Regions from separate parts of the Homo sapiens genome. Here region 2 is linked to region 1. Evidence: promoter capture Hi-C in 16 types of primary human blood cells and fetal thymus (Javierre and others, 2016). All regions are on one chromosome and are shown on one strand. The core of a region is centred on a gene start or on the middle of the fragment in contact, and the rest is flanking DNA. Distances in the headings are between cores, read along the strand shown. Region 1 holds the start of EPB41L4A (erythrocyte membrane protein band 4.1 like 4A). Region 2 has its middle 54 kb from the start of WDR36.

What was found. Contacts are between HindIII fragments. The CHiCAGO score rates a contact against its expected background, and 5 or more counts as called.
Region 2: a contact is called between a fragment that was not itself captured here and the fragment with the promoter of EPB41L4A in region 1, in 1 of 17 cell types (M1 macrophages). The highest score is 6.2, in M1 macrophages.

The regions. Positions count from the first base shown.
Region 1 is chr5:112,418,020-112,421,115 of GRCh38, forward strand. It overlaps EPB41L4A (erythrocyte membrane protein band 4.1 like 4A), which reads right to left and starts at 1,258. Exons shown (of 23, transcript NM_022140.5): 1 at 922-1,258. The coding sequence starts at 1,020. EPB41L4A-DT (EPB41L4A divergent transcript) reads left to right here and starts at 1,564. Exons shown (of 1, transcript NR_027706.1): 1 at 1,564-2,959. RefSeq lists a silencer at 1,923-2,012. The HindIII fragment of the contact is 9,034 bases long and covers 1-3,096 here.
Region 2 is chr5:111,144,591-111,148,008 of GRCh38, forward strand. No RefSeq gene overlaps it. Among named protein-coding and RNA genes, the nearest start is that of WDR36, 54 kb to the left of the region's middle. The HindIII fragment of the contact is 1,186 bases long and covers 1,411-2,596 here.

The DNA of each region.
Region 1 (3,096 bases), core at 8-2,507:
TCAGAAAGCCAGCTCTATCAGAGCGGGGGCGGGGGGGCGGTTTCCCTTCACCAGACTCAGCTGTTGCCTTATCTAAAATGCCTTAGCGATCTAAAACTGAAAGAGAAAGATAAACAAAACAACAAAACGCTCCGGATTTAGATCTCCTTTAGGTAGTTAACACTGTTGCAAAAGCAAAACAAGCACGCAGGCGCGTCGGTCAGGTTGTCACTACAAACATACGTACCTTCTCATCCAATGTAAGGAAGAGGATCTCTGCGAGCTCTGCTGCCTTTTTGTTTGGGCTCTCTAGGTTAATGTAGTGATTGCATTTTAATGACCCACAAACAGGAGCAAAGTTATTACTGGGTCGCTTTGAGAGATGTTTACTTAAATGTGAGGATAAACCCAGGTCGCTGTAGAAAGGGAAAATATTTTCCGTCCAAACGTAGCATTACCCAACTACGAACCCACGCAAAACAATCACAATGACCCATTAATGCGTTTCAACGAGTGAACTAGTTCACTTCCCTAATAACACTGTCAAGGAAAACGCCTTCAACAAAGTCGAGGGAAACCATGCCTTCCACACTGGTGGGACGCAGCTGGTATAACCCATTCTGCCCCTCTTTGAGAGCTGCGGGGCACCCAGAGGCTTTTGGAGAAAACCGGTTTGGGGAAGAGTTTTGGGGTGCTGCTGGGAGCCGGTGTGCTGAGTAAACTTAGAAACGTCAAACTCAACTTTGCTTTATGAAGGAACTCAAAGTTAACTCACCCTGGTACGTCCACCCTCTCCCTGCGCGCAGGGGACAGCGGCCTCTCCTCCCCACCGCGCAGAGTCGCGGCCGCCGCCCTCGACCCACCGGTGACAGCCCTCAAAGCGATGGACCCCCGCACCCGCCCTGCCGCCAACCCCCGGAACGCGCTCCGGGCCGCACCCACCTTGATGCCCTGCTGCTGGGTGGTAAGGGTTAACTTGGATTCATCCAGGAGCAAAACTTCGCAGTAAAATTCTTCCGGAACAGCGCAGAAACAGCCCATGTCGGTTGTGGTCGTCTCCAGCCAGGAGAGAAAGCTACCACCGAGGCGCCCAGCCGCCCCCTCCACTCAAGCGCGATGCATTAATTTATTGTCCGCGCCGTGGCGAGGGTGAGACGAGCAGCTCCCGGCGGGGTCCGGGGACCGGCCGCCGAACCGCCCGGCGGGGCGGGAGCGAGAAAGGCGGAAAAGCCCGGGAGAGTCAGCGCCCGGGAGCCGCCGGGGAAGCGCCGGCGGAACTGGGCGCGGAGGGCGGTGGCGCGTCCCCGCGCATCCTGCGGCTCGAGCTCCTCCGAAGGCGGGGGCGCGGGGCCCCTCCCGCAGTCCTGGGGACGACAAAAGTCTCCTGGCACTGGGGGCAAGAGACCAGAAAAAGGAGTGATGGGAATTCGAGGCTCTCCCCGGCCTTGGAAAACCCTGGAAGCGCTGCACCTCCCTCCTGCCGCACGGATTTGAGCGCGGCCCCGACGTCCTGGCGTCCGATCGGCCTGCGGAGTCCCCCGCGGGCGCGCACTTCCAGCCGCGACCCCGCCCCGCAGCCCCGGGTCAGATCCGCCGAGTATGAAGCGCTCGGCTTTTCTTTTGTGTGAGGAGCACCCACGACGCCCCGACCATGGGCGCAGGGGCAGAGGCGAAGGTCGTCGCTCCGTCCGCTACCCCGTCCCCCAGCCGCAAGCGCCGAGGAGCCGGAAGAGAGGCGGAAAGGGCAGCAGGCTCCTTACCCAGACCAGCGAGGGGAGGTCAGCTCGTCGCGGGGTGTGGCTCCCGTCCGGGGACTCCCGAGCTCATTACGGGTGGCCGTGTGTAGCCAAGTTCAAGCTCTCCCTCCGGGAATGCCTGCCGCGGCGGCGGAATACGGCTTCTTCAGGACATTCAGCAAAGCGGGGAGGCGGGGACCTGCGGGCGGAGGAGCGACGCCCCAGCTGGGAACGCGGCGGACGGGCGAGCGGGGGGTGCGCCCTGGGCGCGCCAGGCCGCAGAGGCTCCGGGGAAAGTTCTCTTGGCCGCGCGAGTGGTGGCGCCCCGGGCGGGAGCAGCCCAGGTGCATGTGGGCCCGGTCCAGGCGTCTGCAAAAAGCCCTGGAACGAAGCGGACCCCCCAGTCCAGCGCTGGCCGCGGCAGGGGAGCCCCTTCTGGGCGGGGTATCAGCTGGGGGCGGAGGGCGGGGCAGAGACCGTGGTCCCAGCGGCGAGGTGCCGGCGAGTCCACGCTGCCAAGCCGCACACTGCGCCCAAGCCGCGGGGCAGTCCAGCGCTCGCTGCGTCCTTCCCCCGAGAGACCTGGAGGCTGGGTGGGGAGAAGAGGACGCGGTGCTGCTCGGACCCCACGGTTCGGCGGTCCCAATCCCACGCCCTCCGCGCGGTCGGCCGCGTCCAGGACTGAGGGGCACAATAGCTCTGAAGCTGCAGTGACCCCTGGTGGGTCCCGATGTCCGTGCACAGGCAGCCGAGGTTGAGCTGCGGACGACACTGAGCCCCGCTGGGCTTCGGAGCAGGTGCAATCTGTGCTCTCCAGCTGGGAACCAGCAGCGAGTTAATGCGAGTCGCAGTTAGGGGAGACACGAGGGGAGGTGTCACAGAAAAAAAACTCTATATTGAGTTTTAGAGTTAGAGCTTTGGCATCAGACGTAGTTTTGAGTTGACTATTCTACTGCTTGTTAGCTGGGTAGCCAAAGCTCAAAAAAAATTGCTTAAAACCTAGGACGTTAGCCCTTAAAACAAAACCAGGCTTCCGTAGCACAGTAGAAATGAAATGAACAATTGGCGACTTTTGATGGAGTTTCCTCTCATAGTGATTTGCCACAAAGGACCTTCTGTAGGAAGCCTCGGCCTTCCCTGCTATTGTGACCCCATCCAAACACAGGATCAGCATAACCGCCAAAGTGCAATATAAATTTCTGAACTTTACCTAGGCTATGAATAAAACTATTTTATCTTCTGAATTTTCTGTGAAATTGACTCAGGTTTTGAATTTCTGATCAAATTTCGTGTCCAGCTTTGTTTTATTGTCAAAGTCTTGCCTGCCTTATGAGGTGACACCTTATTATGCTAGATTTTAGCATTTCTGCTTGTAGAGGCT
Region 2 (3,418 bases), core at 754-3,253, 1.3 Mb before region 1:
GCCCTCTCGGTTTATCTATGTTGCCACAAATGACAGGATTTCATTCTGTTTTATAGCTGAATAGTATTCCACTGTATGTATATATGCCACATTTTTTTTATCCACTAATGTGCAGATGAGCATTTAAGTTGATTTCCTAATCTTGGCTATTGTGAGTAATGCTGCAATAAACAGGCAGTGCAAATGTCTCTTCAACATACTGATTTCATTTCCTTTGGATATGTATCCAGTAATGGGATTGCTGGAGATGGTACTTCTATTTTTAATTTTTTGTGAAATCTTTATACTGTTTTCCATAATAACTGTACCAATTTATATTCTCACCAATGATGTATAAAAATCCCCTTTTCTCTGCATCTTCACCAGCATTAGTGACTGTACCAAATAACAATACAGTGCATATTACAAGATCGCTAGAAGATTTTTGAACATTGCCACCACAAAGAAATGATAAATATTTGAGGTGGTTAATATGATAATTACCCCAATTTAATCTTTATACTATGCATATATGCATTAAAATATCAGGTTGTACTACATAAACATACAGTTATTATGTGTCAATTATAAATTTAAAAATTAAAACATTCATTGGATGGATTTAACAGTAGACACAATATAGAAAATAGTTTGAACTAAATAGTAATAGAAATATGATATATCATTATGTGTGGGATGCAACTAAGAAGATATTTAGGAGGTAGAAATAGACTTGGTGATAGTTGAGAGGTGGATAATAAAGTCAACTCCTGGGTTTCTATTTGTAGTACTGGATGGATGATTGTGTGATTGTTATTCACCACGATAAGAAATTGTGTGTGTGTGTGTGTGTGTGTAAGAGAGAAAGAGAGAGGTGTGCACATGCAAATGCAAGGAGGTAATTGAGGATGAAGTGAGGGTAGTTGAGTTTGAAGTGACTTGGTGGTTTCTAAATAGATGTTCCCACTCCCCAGATTGCACTTTTCCTACTTCTGCACTAGACATCAAGACTTGAATTCTTTCTCTTATGGGGAACCTCTTCTGACCACTAACCTTACCCCAGGATGGGTTAAGTGTTCCTATTCGGTGTACTCAAAACATCCTACACATAAGTCTCATAGTAATTTTATATTTTTTATTAAGTTATGTTGTTATAAAACTATTTGTTTATTTATCTCTTACCTTAGAGGTCCTTGGAAAGCAGAAATGCTGTTTCTAGCACAGAGTAAGTGCTCAGTTATAGTTTGTTGAGTAGCACTGGACTGTGAAAATCAAATTGAGGTATTTCCAGACATACTTAGGGCACTCAAAATTTTCACATCTCCTGCTTCTAAGTAAATACTAAACTTGAGAGTTATAGAGTAGAGTTGTTTAGGTGAAAAAAAATACTGAGACAGTATCACAAGATCACAAAATTTTTGCTCCCAAAGAAGCTTACAGTTAGAGTTTCCCAATTATAGTAAAAAGAGAGACAGAGAGAGATATTAATAAGGGATTTATATTGTAGCCTAAATTCTAAACTGCCTACACTTTGAACTTACAGTTGGAAAGGTATGACATCAGACGACCTTGGAGTCAGAGACACTTGGCTTCTAAGCAAAGCTCTGTCACCTGCCAGCTAGGCAGCTTTTGCTTATCTGAGTCTCAGTTTTCTCCTCAGTAAAGAGGAGATGAAACTAATCTTGCCCCACAGGGTTTTTATGAGCAGTGACTCTCTTCTTTTCTCAACTCTGAGAGGTCCAACCCTCCTGGGCAGGGCAGCAATCTGAGAAATAGGTTAGTATATGAAACCGATGCCTGGCCAAGTCACAGAGGTCCCTCTGAGTGAGCCTTTGTCTTTTTCCAGAAAGAACCAATAGAAAATTAGGTTTGCAATGCACACAGAGTCGTCAGACATTCAAGACTGATTGTATTTCTCACAATTATAATTCTCTCTCTTTTTGTTCCTTCTGATTTCACCCAGGTTCCTATCCGATGTCTTCCTGGTAGTGATCAGTACCATGCGATGTCCCAGTTAGCTCTGTACATCCACTTCTTCATATGCCATTCATTGTACTGTGTAGGATGGTCTGGTATCTCAAGTCTTTCTTGATAACTGTACTCTCCTTCCTTGGTGATATCCTTACCTATTCTTGGTATTCTTCCCACTGCAGGCCAACTATATTTCACATCTGTGACACACAAAAAACCAGAGATTGTCTTTCCATTTTGCTCTTGTGGACATCAGTTCTTGTCAACATCAGTTGATCTATGTTATCAGTCCTTGACTTTTGGGGGTTTTTCTCTGTTTATTTGTTTTGTGTAAGACTTTATCCTCAGATTAACTGCTTATTTCTAAAAATACTGTTTAGTTTAAACTCAGTAAGATGCATTTTTACCTAATTTAACTCATGACTTTTCTTCCCAACAATGAAAATTAGACATAGAAAGTGTGAAAACCATAAAACATGAGGTCTGATTCAAGGTAAAGACTTCATACCTGAAAGGTTTTGATGGGAACATACTTTAGTAAATGCTGTTCATTGCTTTATGCTTCCTTAGATATGTACAGTGTATGTTAAAGGTGCAACTGCTGACAAGTGATTTAGTCAGGCTTCTCCTCAAGGCCTCTTCTCGAAGCTTCTAAATTTTGATATATTAGAGACCATCCTCCTGTAGGGTCAGAGAAACAAGAAGGAGAGGTCGGCATTACCAGAATGCAGAAGCCTGGAGAAGAGGCCTTGAGGAGCAGGCACCCCCGTTAGACACAGTGGACCTCTAAAACAAGCGTCCTGTCCAAATGCAAGTGATGGCCCATGGATCTGGTATTTAGAACCCTAAGAAGAGTTGTGCTGCCTGGCTGATATTTGTGCCCGAGAAACTTGGAGGAGGTGCACCATGGAGAAAGAATCCAGATCTCTGAGGAGGTGGCATTGGTAAACTGGTCTTGATACCTCCGAGTGGATGCTATGAGGCTATGAGGTTCTAGTAGTCTAGAATAACTGTGAACTGGAATAAACCATTGCTTCTGGAATAAATTGCTCTTTCTGGATCAGTGCAGTGTTGTTGGGGGCCTGCTGACAGGAACAGGAAGGAAAGAAGAAAGAGAATGTCTCTTCCTGCTCCAGCCTTGCAGTCAGCCTTCAACAATCTCTTATCAGTGGAGTCCGACAGGACATTCCAGAGAACCCCCTGATTTCCTGTCTTCCCTAGCCCTAGGAAAATAGCAGCTATACTTTTCCCCTTGGTAATCAGAAGAAATCAACCAGATAATAGAATAACGTATTTGTCTCCTTTTGCCTGTTGAATCCATGGCACAAGGAGCCTGAAAGATAAGTAGAGTCTCAATTTCCAAGTCAAAGGAATCTTTGATTTTTCCCTGGTAGAAGCATTCCTCCCTTAGTGACCAAGATGTCCAAACTCAAAGAGCTCAAAGTTGAGAAGAAGGGAAACAAGAATT